Linked DNA regions of Homo sapiens: all the other regions are linked to region 1. The links are contacts of gene promoters, found by promoter capture Hi-C in blood cells and fetal thymus (Javierre and others, 2016). All regions are on one chromosome and are shown on one strand. Each heading gives the region's core, a stretch centred on a gene start or on the middle of the fragment in contact. The rest is flanking DNA. Distances are from core to core; before and after follow the strand shown.

What was found. The method cuts DNA at HindIII sites, captures the fragments that hold promoters and counts their contacts. A CHiCAGO score of 5 or more calls a contact.
Region 2: a fragment that was not itself captured here is called in contact with the fragment with the promoter of RPL34 in region 1 in 1 of 17 cell types (naive CD4 T cells); the score reaches 5.3 in naive CD4 T cells.
Region 3: the fragment with the promoter of CASP6 here is called in contact with the fragment with the promoter of RPL34 in region 1 in 13 of 17 cell types (naive CD8 T cells, non-activated CD4 T cells, fetal thymus and 10 more); the score reaches 16.9 in naive CD8 T cells.
Region 4: a contact is called between a fragment that was not itself captured here and the fragment with the promoter of RPL34 in region 1, in 1 of 17 cell types (total CD8 T cells). The highest score is 5.6, in total CD8 T cells.

Annotation. Positions count from the first base shown.
Region 1 is chr4:108,618,478-108,622,736 of GRCh38, forward strand. It overlaps RPL34 (ribosomal protein L34), which reads left to right and starts at 2,099. Exons shown (of 5, transcript NM_001319236.2): 1 at 2,099-2,123; 2 at 3,474-3,547; 3 at 3,628-3,727; 4 at 4,038-4,141. The coding sequence starts at 3,483. RPL34-DT (RPL34 divergent transcript) reads right to left here and starts at 1,980. Exons shown (of 4, transcript NR_026968.1): 1 at 1,831-1,980. RefSeq lists enhancers at 1,637-2,836, 2,062-2,111. The HindIII fragment of the contact is 3,742 bases long and covers 1,629-4,259 here.
Region 2 is chr4:109,648,288-109,652,529 of GRCh38, forward strand. The region is part of intron 1 of MCUB (mitochondrial calcium uniporter dominant negative subunit beta); the gene reads left to right. Among named protein-coding and RNA genes, the nearest start is that of CASP6, 53 kb to the right of the region's middle. The HindIII fragment of the contact is 1,426 bases long and covers 538-1,963 here.
Region 3 is chr4:109,701,342-109,705,371 of GRCh38, forward strand. It overlaps CASP6 (caspase 6), which reads right to left and starts at 2,104. Exons shown (of 7, transcript NM_001226.4): 1 at 2,015-2,104. The coding sequence starts at 2,054. RefSeq lists enhancers at 706-765, 1,526-1,585, 2,476-2,525 and silencers at 1,766-1,875, 2,026-2,315. The HindIII fragment of the contact is 4,197 bases long and covers 1-3,762 here.
Region 4 is chr4:110,193,489-110,197,929 of GRCh38, forward strand. The region is part of intron 1 of ELOVL6 (ELOVL fatty acid elongase 6); the gene reads right to left. Among named protein-coding and RNA genes, the nearest start is that of ELOVL6, 2.9 kb to the right of the region's middle. RefSeq lists an enhancer at 2,825-3,119 and silencers at 2,854-2,963, 3,164-3,793. The HindIII fragment of the contact is 228 bases long and covers 1,475-1,702 here.

The DNA.
Region 1 (4,259 bases), core at 849-3,348:
TTTCCCAACTTCATTTACTGAATAGTCACCAATCTTTCCCCACCAATCTGATATATTACCTTTGTCATATACCAAAGTTTCATACATTTATTATTATTATTATTATTATTGAGATAGGATCTCATTCTGTTGCCCAGGCTGGAGTATGGTGGCACAATCATGGTTCACTGCAGCCTCAAACTTCTAGGCTCAAGTGATCCTCCAGCCTCAGCCTCCTGAGTAGGTGGGACTAAAGGTGTGTGCTACAACACCTGGCTAATTAAAAAAAAAAAATTTGTAGAGATGGGCGTCTCGCTATGTTGCCCAGGCTGATCTTTAACTACAGGTCTCAGTGATCTTTCTGTATCAGCCTCCCGAAGTGCTAGGATTAACAGGCATGGGCCACTGTACCTGGCTGTCTTTGAAGTTTTTAATAAGATTGCCATATCTCTCTCAAGACTGATCAAGAAAAAATGCAAATACAAATTTAAAGAGAGGGAAAAATAGTATTATGGAACTGGGTTAAGTACCTTAAGGGAAAACTACAACAATGAGACCACTATTCTTATCTACTTGGGTGGGGGAAGGCACGGACAGAGACGTAAACAACAGCATAGTGTGCCAAGGGCTCCCATCTCCTGTTCTCTTCTGCTCTGCAAAGTCTCTCTTAAAATATAGAGAACATATTGCAAGTAAATACATTCATTAGTGCATTTATTCAAAAACCACATTTGTCTCTCTATGCAAGCTTCCATCTCAATGCCTGGCACAGAGACGAAAAGGATTTCAGAGGACAAAAATCAAAGGACTGGAAAGGAGGGAAGTAGCTGATGACAAGGTCGGGGGAGAAGCAGCTATTTGAGAGTGAGCAGAGGGAAGGATATAACCAGAGCCTTCCATCTGGTGTTGTGACAAAGATGGCAGTGATGTGAGGCTTGATAGAATCAATAGGCCTCACAGTTCAAGACAGACTACATGCCCTCAGTCACTTGCCTGCTTTCTTGGTTTGCTAGATGGATTAGAAATACTAGAAGGAAAGTTGAGTGGGTACTGGGATATCCTATCCAAATCCTCTCTTCTGGGGCAATGCAGCTGCCTCACAGCAACCACGTTGTGGATCACCTGACCCCGCCTTTCTCAGCTTCCTGGAGGTGCATTCTAAGAGCGCTCCCCATAAGCCAACACTCAAGTCTCTTCGAGGTGTGTTTCCAGGGAGCCTGATCTAAGATTAAAAACTTAAAGGCCCCTTTTAGAATTGTCTTTTACAGCCCAGGCAAAGAGTTCTTTACTTTTTTAGAGGTCATGAATCCCTTTGACAAGGTGATGAAAGCCAGGGACCCTCTTCTCAGAAAAATACACACGTGCGCTTAATGTAAAATTTTACATACTGTTTTAAAGGTTAAACTTTACCACCCATGAAAAGCCTCAAGTAGTTCTTTGTACATAATCATAAGATTAGCAACCATTTACTGAGCACTTCCTCTCTATAAGACCCTGTGCTAAGTGCTTTAACTTCATAATGCCTTTGATCATGACATAACATGGCACGGTAGTTCCTAATATCTTCCTTTTAGAGATTTAAGGGCTTGCTCAAAGTAACATAGCTAATAATTAGCAGACACTGGATTAAAATCCCAATTTGTTTGTAAAGCTTGTGCTCTGAATAAATGACAAGGAAAGAGAAGGGAAGGTTGAAGAAGGGAAGGTTCTTGAAGGTCCCTGGTCCTTGAAGGTCCCTTAACCATAAATGTCAAGAGTTGGGATTTAAACCCAGGTCTAACGCCAGAGCTGGCGCCCTTTAGATTAAAAGTGCAGTGTCCATGACAACGAAAGAAGTTGATTTTGTCCCACCTTTGCTCTTTGCGGCTTTTCATTTGCGTTTGTTTCCACAGCGATTTCCAATAGATTTCTGCGTGGCCTTGACACAGACAGCTAGTGTGAATCCCCGCCCACAGAGGGGCGGCACGTTGGTTGCCGTACAACGTGGTGGTTCCCTGCATCTCTGCCCACGTCGGAGAGGTGCGTCGGCTTCCGTACAACACGGATACTCTCTCTCTGACGCAACTTCCTGTCCTGCGCAATTCTATTTGACCTTTGAACTGGCAAAGGCTTTTTTCTTCCTCTTCCGGGGACGTTGTCTGCAGGTATGGATGTTGTTCTCTTTTCCCTGTCTTTATTTCCTTACCAATCGGCTGCCATCCGAGGAGCTGAGGAAGCCTAGAGCTCTCAGAAGCAGTCCTTTGAGCTGGTGTAGGGGTAAGGGGCACAACAGGGAGGTTGGTGGTGAGGAAGTTCCTTACTTTGATCTTTGGAAATCCCTTGTTCCTGGTGGCACCTCCAAAGCCGTGAGTAGCCACAGCTCACCACCCGGGACTTTGCTGCATTCCAAGTGTAGCGTTTGGAGACTAACGAGTTGTGGTTTGGCGGTTTGAGTCTGGAAAATCGCCAAACGTTTTCATATTTTACACCCACGTTTTCACAGCACGCCTGTACGTGTCCTTAGTCTTTGGGAGGGCAGGGTCCGGCGAGTTCGGGTGGTTTCGCTATTTGGCTTCTGCGTCCAAGGCCCATGTCAAGGAAGAGAAAAATGTGTTAGAAGTTTCTGTCTTGCTTTTGGAGATGCAAACAGAATAATGGCTTCATAAATCACTCGCACTGGTTTTACGTGTCAAGTTTTGGTGTCTGGTAATTCTGTTTTAGTTTAATTTTAGTGAGAGGCTTGTGACAACAAATGAGGTGGTTACAAGGGGTGGAATGGGAAGATTAAATTAGTTCAAGTATTGATTATGTTTTACGTTGGGTAGTTCCCTTAACGAAGTTGCTCGTATGCATATCTGTATAACCGATTTGCTAAATAACATCACGATGTTTCCAGAAGTGGGAAGAAAGCAGGTGCCATAACCCAAAGAAACTTGTGTAATATCAAAATTAGTATTAAAGGGTATGCCTTTACGCAGGTGGTGCTTTAGGGCAAGACATTGAACCCTGATATGTGCCAGGCATTGTGTTGGGACGGATAGCCCACGTCGTTTAATCCTAATGACAGCTGTATAAAGTAGACAGAATTCCCATGTTAGAGATAAGGAGGCTAGCTCCTTGCCCTTTATATTCCCAGTAAATGGCATAGCTAAGGATTCGACTTCAGAGCTCACTTTTTGTGCTCTTTGTTTAAAGCGGTGTTTCTCCAACTGGGCTCGTGGCACTTTTCTGGACACCACTCCAAACAAAATTAGACTCTGAGTAAGGAGCCTGGTCATCAGAACGTTAAGGAAGTGCCACGTTTGATTACCATCAGGAAAGCTAACATTCTTGGCCTCTTGTTTATCAGTCACCTTTAAATACAAGTAGTTTTAAAATGTGGAATAATACATCTTAATTTAAGGGTGTTACATACAAGGATATGTATGTGAATGAAATAGACCACATGATACTGTTTTGAGATTTTATTTACTTTTACAATGGAAAGATTTGATGTTACTCTATTCTTAATTTAGGCACTCAGAATGGTCCAGCGTTTGACATACCGACGTAGGCTTTCCTACAATACAGCCTCTAACAAAACTAGGCTGTAAGTATTTCTGAAAATTTTAAGTATATATTGTCATTTACTCTACAAAATGCTGACCTACTGACTGTTTCACTTTCTAGGTCCCGAACCCCTGGTAATAGAATTGTTTACCTTTATACCAAGAAGGTTGGGAAAGCACCAAAATCTGCATGTGGTGTGTGCCCAGGCAGACTTCGAGGGGTAAGTGTACCTTTTACTGTGTGCAGCCTAACAAGTCTTGAACTTACTGAGCTTTCATCCCTTGACGATGGAATGAATCAAGGAGAGGTTACCACTAAGAGGGTTCAGAATTACTAAACATTCATGAGCCAAATCTGCCACGAACATAGACTTTTTAAACCAATCTGAGAAATGCAGTGAAATGCCTTTCAGATAAATGAGTACACCATTTCCCTTTGTAACCTACTTTAAACTTGCCCTTAACACTTAACAAAATTTAGGGAAATTTCTGTTAAAGCATCACAAAAATCTTAATATTTTTCTTATGCAGGTTCGTGCTGTAAGACCTAAAGTTCTTATGAGATTGTCCAAAACAAAGAAACATGTCAGCAGGGCCTATGGTGGTTCCATGTGTGCTAAATGTGTTCGTGACAGGTAAGTTAAATGCTTAAATGGGCTTTCCTTAGCAAATTATTGTGTGTGTTATACTGTCTGCTGATCAGTACAATGGTGAAGCAACTCATTTTAAACCAGTTGCATGCTTTAGAACCCT
Region 2 (4,242 bases), core at 1-2,500, 1.0 Mb after region 1:
GTTCCAAAGGGATGACTGACTTAAATGCCTGGTTCTCAGAAGGGATGTAAATACAGTCTAGCTGAGAGGGAGCTGGTGAGAAATTACAGTAGGTGGAAGTTATTGTTGGCTGCTAGCCAAATATTGTATGTATGTATTCTGTTTCTGTACTGTATTAGCCAAATGCCAAACGTATTCTGTTTCTGTTCTGTTTCAGTCATTTTGTGGATTAACTACTCGTCTTGGGCTGTCCAGACCAGAAGAAGAAAAAATTTATTTTCACAGTGATGATTCATGTAGTACCTGAGACTGAAATATTAAGATAACTTTCTAGTCTGTGCTACAAAATGCAGTTTTTGTTAGGGAGATACATAGATCTAGAGGCAAGTAAGAGTTCATCAAAAGAGAGCTCCTATATAGCAGTTTGATTTTTTTTTTTTTTTTTGGTACAGAGAAGCAAAAAAAAAAAAAAAAATCATTAAAGCTTGACGCTCAGTGTGAGATTCTACAAAAGATCATGATGCACCACAGGATGTAGAACTAATGAACCCAAAGACAAGCTTCAAAGCAAAACAACTATGTAACTGAGGAGTACAAAGCAGCCTAACCCCAAAAGCACCATTTTTCTTGCCTCACACAAGAATTTCTTGTTTCTGTGGAGTACAAAAGTACGCTATATTAAGTGACACGGAAAACAACATTTAAAATGATGGAGTTTTTATTTATTTTATGCATATATTTTACCAATTTGCTTGTTCAGAATTTCTCATGCATTCTTATTCCTTGTTCGTGTTACATTTTGTTCACTACAGCTGAGTAGTGCCTTCAATGAAAGCCTATGAGTAGTTAAACCCTCAGTCTGTGTTGTTATAAATCCAACAACTTCTGTCCTTTTAACTGTTGAGTTTAATCTGTTTACATTTATTGTGATATCAGACAAATGTGGATATCTATCTACCACCTTATTCTGTGCATTCTGTTCATCCTGATTTTCCTTTGCTCATTTTCTTTCTCCTTTCTTATCTTCTCATAATTTGGCTAAATGTTTTTTTATACTCCTTTATCTCTATTGGTTTGGAAGTACACACTTTTTTTCTCTCTTCATTTAGTTTTACATCCTGTGGTGTGTAAGTTTTCTTACATCCTGTTTTCTTATGTGTTTGATTTCCTTTTTCCTGCAAAATGCTTTCAGTAAACATGTTTTAGTCGCTCAGTCTCAGTTTTGTTCAAAATGGTAGGTTATCTGACTATAGAATTCAAGGTTGATTGTTATTTCCCCTCAGAACTTTGAAGATACTCCTTTGCCTCTGCCGTCTATTAATTCACCTTATGTAAATTTAATTGCTTTCCTTTGTAGGCAATCTCTTTTTTTTTCAGGCATTATAAGAATTTTTTGTTTCTGGGGTTCTGTAGTTTCATCACATTGTGTCAGGGACAGAGTTAATTTCATTTTTCCTGCCTGGGACTCATTTATTATGATTTTTTAAAATAGAAATATGGTTTCACCCTGTTGCCCAGGCTAGTCTTGAACCCCTGGGCTCAAATAATCTTCCTGCCTCAGCCTCCCAAAGTGTTCGGATTACACGCATGAGCCACTGCGTCCAGCTAGGACTCATTATACTTCTTAAATCTAAGGACTCATCCTGAGAATCCTTAGATTTGAGAAGTGGGGCCTGATTTGGGGAATCTGAACCCAGGTGTGGTATGGAGGAGCAGCCCGGCTAACTGGATTAAATGAAAAGCAACAGATTTGGTTCATACCATTTGTTTATTCAAAACTATCATATCCCCCTATCAAGGGGGGAATGGTAGGCTCCTCAAGATGGGTTTGAGGTGAGGTGTAAACTAAAAGGAAGACCTGAGTTTTGGTGAGTCATTCTTGAAATTCAGCTCTGCATGCATGATGGGTTTGTGTAAGATTTTCAGAATTTTAATAATAACCCTCTAAAAAGGGTTGTTACAGGGTATGGTAGTTTCTCTTTTAAGCTTTACTAACATGTCTGAGGATTGTCAATATTCTTGGGGTTTCTAAATAAAAACTTGTACAGGAGTGTCTTTGCTTTAAAAAATTTTTTATTTTCAATTTCCCAAGTAACCATAGTTTCCTACTGGCATGCAAAAAAGGTTTAATATTTGACCCCTTGTTATTAATCACTTATCTTTGTATATGGTAATTTTGGTGTTGTAAACCTATTGTTTTTGAATTATTAATTTTTTTTACCCTGGCCTACCAGTCTCTCAGAATTGTGTGATTTTGAAACAGTCTCAAACATAACATAAAGAAAGTTGTAACCACAGTGGGAAGACTATTTTGTTTCTGAACTATTTGAGAATACATTGCAAACTTGATGCCAGTTCCCCTGAAACATAAGAACATTCTCCAACTTAATGACAAACAACCATCAAAATAGGAAAATTAATGTTAGTACATAACCACCATCTAATTTTTAGACCTCATTAAAATCTTGCCAATTTTTCCAATAATGTTCTTTATTGGCAGAAGTTCAGAATCACAGTTTAATTTAGTTGTCATGTCTCCTCCACTCTGGATCAGTACAACATTCTTTGACATTCATGATTTGACTCTTTTAAAGATTACAATTATTTTGTAGAATGCCTCTGTTTGGGTTTGTCTGGTATTTCCTTGTGATTTGCTTCAGATTATATAGCATCTTTGTCGGGAATATCTCAAAAGTGTCCCATGTATTCTCATTGCATGATTTCAACTCACCCCATTACTGATAATATTAATTTTGATCAATTAAGATGGTATCTGTCAGGCTTCTTCCCTTTGAAGTTATTATTTTTCCTTTGGGATTAATGCTTTTGTGTGAAGGCATTTTAAAACTGTGTAAATATCTCATTCCTTATTAAACTTTAAATTTATTCAGTTAATTATGTCAGAATACACTCATGGTTTCCTATCTCCTTCAGTGGATTATAATTTGTTACTATCATTATTTAATGCTAAAAATTGTTCCAGATTTTACCACAGGGACACCCTTTGACCTGCCTTCTGGGTTCTTTTGATAAGTCTTCCATCATCCATTGAGCACTTCCTTGCTTTCTAGTACAGCAAGATGCTCTAGGTTCATTTTGTCCTTATCCATGCCCAGCCCTAGAATAGCCATTTCTCCAAGGAGGCTTGCTTCCTCTTAGGTAAGCATAGTATCTGGTGCCAAGAGCTAGATGCTAGATGTTATTAGAAGTGCCACTGCTCATAGGCTCTCTCAGAAAGAGAATATACATATACATATATATGTCAGTATGAAAACATAAATATGTAAAATTTAAAATTTCTATACTTACATACACACGTACATTAAACATTTGCATCTTTTAAAAATTTTATATTTAATTTCATTTAATTATATTTCTTTACATTATTACACATTAAAAACCATGAATTCACACCAGTACTTCAGTCTAACACTACAGGGTTTATTCTACTCCCTTTCCATAATTGTAGTTCCATTCTTGCACAGGATAAATCTGACTTCCATTATTCTTGATATATTTTTTTCTTCTGCATGTGACAGTCTTTCATCTCCACTACCACTCCTTCCCCTGCAGAGATGGCTTTCTTACCCCAACTGGGCTCCAACATTTTTTTCTGAGCCTATTTCCCATGTGGAGGCCGTCTTCATCCCATTTGGGCTATGACACCCACACTAATTGCGCCTCCACTGTTTAGAAACCTTCCTCGCCACCCTTCTGTAGGCCAAAAGTTAAAGTTCAAGGTGTTGGCTCAGTTGGTTTCTTCTGAAGCCTTCTTGGCTTGTACATGGCTGTTTTGTAAATGGCTGTCTTCTCCCTGTGTCCTCACACCGTCTTTCTTCTGGGTGTACATGTCTGTCCAAATCACCACTTCTTGTAAAGACACCAGTTATGTCGGATTAGGGCCTATACTAATGACCTCATTTTAACTTAACCTCTTTAAAGTACAGTCACATTCTGAGGTACTAGGGGTTAAGACTTCAATATATGAATTTGCAGGGGGTGGGGCACAGTTCAGCTCATAATAGTGTTCTATTCAGCTTCCACTTGAGTTTAGTTCTCTTCTTCCTGAAGAAGTTCTTTAGCAAAAATCTGTGGAAATAAGCCATAATCTTGATTATACCTGAAAAACTCATTTCTTTCAGCCTTGCTGTAATCTCTTTTGTGCTGCTGTAACAGAACCATAGACTGGGTAATTAATAATGAACAGAAATGTATTTAGTTCACAGTTCTGGAGGCTGGAAAATCCAAGATTGAGAGGTCGCA
Region 3 (4,030 bases), core at 854-3,353, 1.1 Mb after region 1:
ACCCTGTATAACAGATATAGAAATTCCTTTTCATCTGCAATCTACTTATCAAAAATGTGCCCTTCTTTAAACCTGATTCTTGACCTCTTTTCACTTTTTTTTTTTGAGACAGAGCCTCCCTCTGTCGCCCAGGCTGCAGTGCAGTGGCGCAATCTTGGCTCACTGCAAGTCCACCTCCAGGTTTCAAGCGATTCTCCTGCCTCAGTCTCCCCAGTAGCTGGGACTAGAGGCGCCCACCACTGTGTCTGGCCCTCTTTTCACTTCTCTTCCTTTGCAGGATAATGTAACTGCCACCTCCTTATTCCTTAAATCAGCTTAGGTTTTACAAAACTAATCATTCCTTTTTTCACCTCACTCTAATTTGATAGTCCCTCCAGATAATCCTGCCAGCTACCATTTGTTGATGGCCTGATGCCTTAGATACCTTATCTCACAGCTCCACAGCTCAGGAACAGGGACAGAGAAAGTGGGCCAGGCGTGCCAAGGTCGGCAAAGTGAAGCTGGGATTGAAAGCCAGCCCACCTACAGATTCCAAAGTCTCTGTAGGCCCATCCCCACGCAGCCCCTCCCACCCGAGACCGGCTACCTTTCTAAACTTTGTTCAACTTCCCAAACGACTTCGGTCATTCTACTGTCATCGTCTTCATTCACTGCACTCTCTATGAAAATCTACCCATCGGCTCCATCAACAATGTATTTAGTAACCCTATGTAGAGTAACCTCCATCAGGCCTAGAACATGCACTGGGGAGTGCGGTGGAGGAAGAAGAGGAAGGGAGCAGGTGAGTGAAGGAAAGCCCCGGCTTCCCGCCCCTAGAGACTGCAACTGGACCCTGCACTGTGCCTCCAGGACAAGGCTACCTATCTACCTCCTCTACGACCATGTGACTTTTACAGCTTGCCTCTGGAGCACCATTTCCTTTGTGCAGCAAAATATAAAGAGTTCTTAAACAAAGGCACTCTAACCAACTGCAGGCGTTTCGTTCTTTTTTTTTTTTTTTCTTCTTGATTCGAAGTCTCACTCTGTCGCCGAGGTTGGAGTGCAGTGGGGCGATCTCGGCTCACTGCAACCTCCACCTCCAGGGTTCAAACGATTCTCTTGTCTCAGCCTCCCCAGTAGCTTGCGCCCAGGCCTGGCTAATTTTTTTGTATTTTTAGTAGAGACGGGGTTTCACCGTGTTAGTTAGGCTGGTCGAGAACTCCCGACCTCTGGTGATCCGCCCGCCTCGGCCTCCCAAAGTGTTGGGATTACAAGGCGTGAGCCACCACGGCCGGCCAACTGCAGGCGTTTCGACCTTTTTGTTTGTTTCACTCTGGCCAGGCTTGAAGTTTCTAAACTTTACCAGTAATAAGTGACAGAACGTACGCTCTTAGCAGTTGATTACTTTGCAGAAAAAAGTTATTGTGGTTTTGGCTCAAACCGACAGACAGCAGCAGGTTTCCTGGATGAAGAAGAGAGATACCGGGGTGTGCTGGCCGCCAGGAACTGGCCGCCTCCAGCTGAAGCCCGGGAGGACCCAGGGTCTTGGCCCGGGCACCCCGCGGGCCTGTTATGTTTTCATTATGACTCGGCGGAACAACCCCTCCTTTTCACTTTTCGAAGTGAGCAAACAAAAGATCCAACCCCCAACATTTCAAACGGCCAGGTGTGGGGGAACGCCAGGCCCGCGTGGGGACAGCCTTTTAAGGTTTAAACAGCCGGGGCGCCCCGAAAGCGCTCATCGCCCCGGAGGACAAAGGCGGCAGGGGCACGCCCCGGCGCCGGCGTCGCTACTCGGGACCGCCAGGAGGCGGCAGCCAGGTCCCCGAGTGTTTCTTAGACTGAAGCGCGAAACCGTCCCCACCCGCCCTGAGCGCTTCAATCCAAGAGTGCAACTTCTCCAGGCCGCCCTGCAAAGCCGAAGGAACCCGCGGCCCCACTCCGGTCCGCGCGCCCGGTCCACTAACCCTCGTTTCCCCTCCAGCCGGAGCAAGACGCAGACCTGCTCGGTGCCCAGTCGACGCCCCCTGCCTACCTGCCGGGTGCCCCCTGCGGAGCCCCGAGGCCGAGCTCATTGCAGCCAAACGCGCAGCCAGACACCTTGCCCTCCTCTTCCTGAAGCCACAGGCTCCCGGGCCCGGCCCCGCCCTCGGCCCTTCCTCGGCGGCCCCGCCCCCTGCCCCCGAGCGTGGGGCCAGTTGGTTCTGATTGCGCGCCGCCCGGGCTCCCGTGGATCGGGCTGGTCCTTCCCAGAGTTAAAGCTCCTCCCAGTCGCTCCGGAGCCCGCGGGGACCAAGAGCGCGGGGGCAGGGAGAGGTACGCGGTCTTCGCCTCCAGGCCCGCTGGGACTAACCGTGCCCTGGGGACATGCCAGTTGCCACCCGGGGGGACACACAGACCGCCTAGCCCGAGGCAATTTCACATCACTTGTGTGAGCTCGGACTCATTTAATCCCAGCTGCCCCAAACATTTGCTATTCCTTACTTTGCTATGCCTGTACTTTCTAGAGGTACAGGCATAGATTGTTTTATACCGCTTAGCAGATACTGCCTGTATTTCAACATTGGCTCGCTTTGTGTCTCTGTGTCACATTTTGGTACTCTCGCAATATTTCAAAATTTTTCATTGTTATTATGTCTGCTGTTGTGATCTGTGATCAGTAATCTTTAATATTATTGCAATTGTTTTGGGGCACCATGAACCGCGCTCATAAAGGAAGGGGAAATTAATCCATAAGCCCTGTATGTGTTTGGACTGTTCCACCGAACTTTCCCTTCTCTCTCCCCCTCCTGGGGCCTCCCTATTCCTGGAAACACAATTTTGAAATTAGGCCAACTAATAATCCTACAAAGGCCTCTAAGTGTCCAAATGAAAGGAAGAGCCTGTCACTTTAAATCAAAAGCAAACATGATTAAGTTAGTGAGGAAGTAATGTTGGTAGGCAGAAAGCTAGGCTTCTTGCTCCAGTTAGCCAAGTTGTGAGTGCAAAGGAGAAAAGCCAAGTCATGAATGCAAAGGAAAAAATTTTGAAGGAAATTAAAAATGCTACTCCAGTAAACACACAAAAGACAATAAAGCTAAACAGCCTTATTGCTGATATGGAGAAAGTTCTAGTTGGTCTGGATAGAAGATAAAAACAGCCACAACATTCCCTTAAGCCAAAGCCTAATCCAGAGCAAGGCCCTAACTCTTCAATTCTATGGAGGCTGAGAGAGGTGAGGGAATTGCAAAAGAAAAGCTGGAAGCTAGCAGAGAGGATGGTTCCTGAGGTTTAAGGAAAGAAACTATCTTCATGACATAAAAGTGCAAGGTGAAGCAGCAGGTGCTAACGTAGAAGCTGCATCAGGTTATCCAGATCTAGCTAAAATCATTGATAAAGGCAGCTACACTAAACAACAATCTTTTGTTTTTGAGACAGTCTTGCTTTGTCACCAAGGCTGGAGTACAGTGGTGCGATCTTTTGCAACCTCTGCCTCCTGGGTTCAAACGATTCTTCTGCCTCAGCCTCCCAAGTAACTGGGATTACAGGATGTGCCACCATGTCCAGGTTAATTTTGTATTTTTAGTAGAGACAGAGTTTCACCATGTTTGGCCAGGCTGGTCTTGAACTCCTGACCTTGAGCAATCTGCCCGCCTCGGTCTCCCAAAGTGCTGGGATTACAGGTGTGAGCCACCGTGCCCAGCCAAAACAACAGATCTTAAATGTATATGAAACGGCCTTCTATTGGAAGAAGATTCCATCTAAGACTTTCATAGCTAGAGAGAAGTCAATGCCTGTCTTCAAAGCTTCAAAGAACAGGCTGATGCTCTTGTTAGGGGCTAATACAACTGATGACTTTAAAGCCAACATTCCTTTACCATTCTGAAAATCCTAGTGCCCTTAAGAATTATGCTAAATATGATCTATAAATGGACCAACAAAGGCTAGTTAGTGACAGCACATCTATTTACAGCATGGCTTAGAGAATATTTAAAGCCCACTGTTGAGCTCTAGTGCTCAGAAGAAAGGTTCCTTTCAAAATATTACTCCTCATTGACAATACACCTGGTCA
Region 4 (4,441 bases), core at 339-2,838, 1.6 Mb after region 1:
CAGCTGCTTGGGAGGTTGAGACATAAGAATCACTGGAACCCGGAGGCAGAGGTTGCAGTGAGCCAAGATTGTGCCACTGCACTCCAGCCTGGGCAACAGAGTGAGACCCTGTCTCAAAAATAAAACAAAATAAAATAAAATGTTTCACTCCATTTTTACCTTTGGTAAAAACAAATTTGTGAATAAAAAGGCTTCCTCAGCTGAACAGCATTTAATTCTTAAAATTCCTATACTATCTTATAGACTCTATAATACAGAATACAAAATGTTAAAACAAGTAAACCCTTTTACACCACCAAGGGAGTGAGTGGGGAGAAAAGTCAGAAAAATATATAAAGCTTTGAAAGGCTGGATGTGTGGAGAATGCCAGGAGAGGGGGAGGGTTTCATGAAGTTCTAGGCAAGCCCTTTGAAGACGTCACCTCACATACATAATGTTACAGCAGTCAGCACAGGCCTCCTGCTTTCCTATTGGTGGGCACCGTGTCAGCCGACATCAGAAGATAATCATCATTGGCTAGACAATTACAACTGGAGCAACTAGCATCCACTGCTGTTAGCACAAACCTGGCAGGCTGCTGAAAGAGAAGGCAGAGAGAGCCCAGCTTCCCTTCTCACTCAATGAATTATATGTCGCCTTAGCAATCACCAGGTGATTTTGCTCCCTGGCTAGCAGCACTTCCAACTTAAGTCAGCTCTTAGTGAGAAAAACAGGTAAAGGCCAGACATCTCATAAAAGAGCAAAATGTCTCTATTTTCAATGTTGTAAAATTGCAAGGACTTTTCAGTGAAAATTAGAATTCAAAACTCCTATTTGGACCTATGAGCAGACATTTTTCTCTACCTCATGTAATAAACTCTCATTGACCAGATAATATAACCAGACAGGATATTTTTCACTGGACATGTAGTTTCAAGATGAGGCCCAGGATGATTCTACAAGGGAATACACTTATTACTTTGCATTTCAATTGCTATTCTAACCTATTATATATGAAACTTTTTGCTAGCAAAGTAAAAAAAGTCTGCAGTATTTACTTTCATGGCTAGGCCAATGAGTATGAGGTTAATGATTCATTAAAGCAGCAATAAACTTGAAAACTAGCCTCAGTTGAACCCTTTAGGGTTTATACAAATGCTACTCCAAAAGTCGGGCCCCATTCCATTAACACGTGCTATGGTTAGTAAGTATGGATTATAGGGTATGTTAACATTAATTTGCGCTATGGTTAGTAAGTATGGATTATAGCGTATGTTTAATAAAGTATTCTTATTTTAGGTCCTCTTAAATGATGCTAGTTAGCAAAGGCAGCATACTGGCAAAATACTACTCCTGGCCATTCTCACAGTTCTTCAAAAGCCAATGTAGTTCACTTTTGAGAGAGGATGTTTTAATTCTCTAAATTAACAAGTTTTGCCTGTTACTAAGAAGAGATTTATAAGGACAACCATAAATTCCCAAAAGACAGAGTAGAAGCTTCACTATATCATGTTTTTCCTCCAGAAGCTATTTCAAACCATTTTAAGTTAATGAGTCTGAAAAAGGTAAGATTTTATGGTTTCCTCAAGTTCCTCTCTCCTCAAGAGGGTCTAAGCCTTGGTTATGGAGTTCCCTTCTCCTATTAAAAAGGGAGTGAAAAGAAAATCTGGTTCAAGACTTTTTGTCCTGCATTAGCTGGATTCTATTAAAAATAAAAACTAAAAGCTTTAATTTGAACCTCCCGGGTTCAAGCAATTCTCCTGCCTCAACCTCCCGAGTAGCTGGGATTACAGGCACCCGCCACCACGCTCGGCTAATTTTTTTGTATTTTTAGTAGAGATGGGGTTTCACCATATTGGCCTGGCTGGTCTCGAACTCCTGTCGTCAGGTAATCCACCCACCTCAGCCTCCCAAAGTGCTGGGATTACAGGCAGGAGCCACCACACCCGGCTAATAAAATTAAATTTTAAAAAGTGTTTAAAGTCTTTTTGGCTGTACAGTTTTTGGGGAGGGAGGAGAGATAAAATTGGGCACCCTGGGATATTGGGAGAAATGCACAAAATCTGGCATTTAAAAAAAAACATGAAAGTAAGACAATTAGGGTCAGGAAGAGTTGCAAGGGAGGGGTAACAGCCAGCAGGGTTCTTTGACTGCAATAAGCAATCTAAGAACATAACATCAACAGAGAGCAGAAGCCAGGAAGGGAAAAATCCCAAGATGTGACTCTGCCACGGTATGCAAGTTCTAGCCTGTTAACCTTCGGGTATTAACGAGTAGTGCTGGCAATAAAATGGGCACCAATCACCATTTCAACTCACTGGACATTTTCTCAAGAATGTGCCTTATGCAAAGCACTCTGCTAGGTGCTTTGCAGAATCAAGAGTGGGATGACAAGAACCGTAACCTGAAGAGCTGATGGTCTGTAAGTTAATAACCATGTATATAACAGTAAAGGATATTGCCAGAAGAAAGGTACAGATAAAGAACTAGGAGGAAACAGTGGTCAGAACCTAACAGGAGTAGATACGTTGGCACATTTTTGTCATTTTCAGTCCCACGAGGGCTGAGACCTGTCTGGCTCAGTACTGAGTGAATGGAGAGAAGAGGCGGGAAATGGTACCTGAAGCAGGCCTAGGAAGTGGCCTCAGAGAAAAAGCAACAAGTAAATAAGAGGCAGTATCGACTGCAGTGGGCTAGGAATGGCGGGCGTACAGTGAATGGGGTCAGCCAGCAAAGCGAGGGAAAGCGGACTCCGGAAGAGCAGGTTAAACCAGGACGCAGCAAGTCAGAGATTCGGCACAGAAGCAAATGCTGACCACACTGACCACACAGGCTAATGCGGGAGGACTGTGGGCCCGAACAGGCCGGCTGGAGGATATGACAAACATGTGCGGAGAAGACCCGGGCCCGGGGCTAGCCAGCAGCGCGGTTCCGGCGCCCGCCGGCTCCGGCCACCGCCCCCTCCCCGCCTCCAGCACCACCCCCTAAGCGGGAGGAGGAAGTGCATCCAGAGAAGGACCCCGGGCGGTGGGGCTCGAGGGGCCTCGGCTGCCCCGAAACGCCGAGGTCTATCTGCGGTCTCGACCCTTAGTGTCCAACCTCCTTCCGGACCCACCCCTGCACCCCCTGGCCTCAGCGGCCCGGGAGGGCACCAGCCCTGTGCCTGTGTGGCTGCTGCACTTCCAGTCCTTCCGAGCGGCCCGCGTCCCCGCCTCTTAGGCTCCGGCTCGGGCCAGACGCGGCCCTTGGGCCCCTAGCCCACCGCCGCCACCAGCCACGCCGCAGCTCACCCCAAGCAGGCCTGCCCCGCCGGTGCGCGCGGCCCAGGAGGCGGGCTCCGCCCGGCAGCCGCCGCAAATGGCCATTGGGGCCCGGACCAGCCCGCGGGAAGCTGGGAGTGGGCGCGCTCCGGCCGGGCGGGAGGAGAAGGAAGCGGCGGCCGGGCCTCCCGACACTGGCCGGCGACTCCAGGGGGCTGGAGGACAGGAAGTTGAAACCCCCTTTTCGCAGCTGCGGCCCCGTGGCACCAGCTCCTACTGCACCAACCCGCCCAGGCCACAGGCGCGCCGGCGTTTCTGGTTTCCAGTTGAAGAGGGCAGGCGGGAGGGCGCGGGGCACGCGCGCTCGCGCACGCGGCGGGCGGAATCCCCCGGCTCCCGGGAGACCCTGCGGCCCGACCCTCCCCGGTCAAGCCATCCCCCGGGCTGCCGGCCCCTTGCCTAGCTCCGGGGTGCGTTGGGCTTGAACTTTACAGATCGCCAGACCCGAAGTTAAGGGGAGGAGAGGAATGCCTCTGCCACAACCCTGTCTACAAGAAGCGAGATGAGCACACCCTCCTCTGTTAAATATTGCAAGGTGACACTGGATCGCCTCCCACACAGGGATTTTCAAAAGGTCTGGCGGGGGGACTACAGTAAACAAGAAAGGTGTTTTCCCTGATTATTAGTTTCCTAGGGAAGAGCCCCTAAGGACTCTGCAGACGGAGGGGCTTTTAATCTGTGTGCCTGAACTCCAATCAGCAGCTACGCACAGAATTAGAAGTGTGTCCAAAAGGCGTTTCCGTAAAACAGAAACTTAATAATGGCGTGGCTCCACTCGCTCGGGTTCATTCATTTATTACTGTTTTCATTGTCCCCTCCTCCCTCCCACCCGGTCTCTCTATGAAACCGGAAAGGGAACCGCGTGGGGAAAGGGGTACTAAAAAGGGGGCATCCGCCTGAGGAGCGGCAGACAGAGGAGGACGGTGAAGTAGGAGCGCTGCAAGGAGAAAGGAAGGACACGAGGGATGGAGAGACAGCGAGGACCAGGGCCAAGGGCGGCGGGCGGGAGAGGGTTAAAGGCAACAGGAGACAAGGTCCTCCCTCCACTGCCTTTCACACTCCGGTTGCGGGAGAGGCCAAGCGAGAAAACCCAAATCTAGATGAAAACCGGGGGAGGGGAGGGGAGCACAGGTAGGCGATCT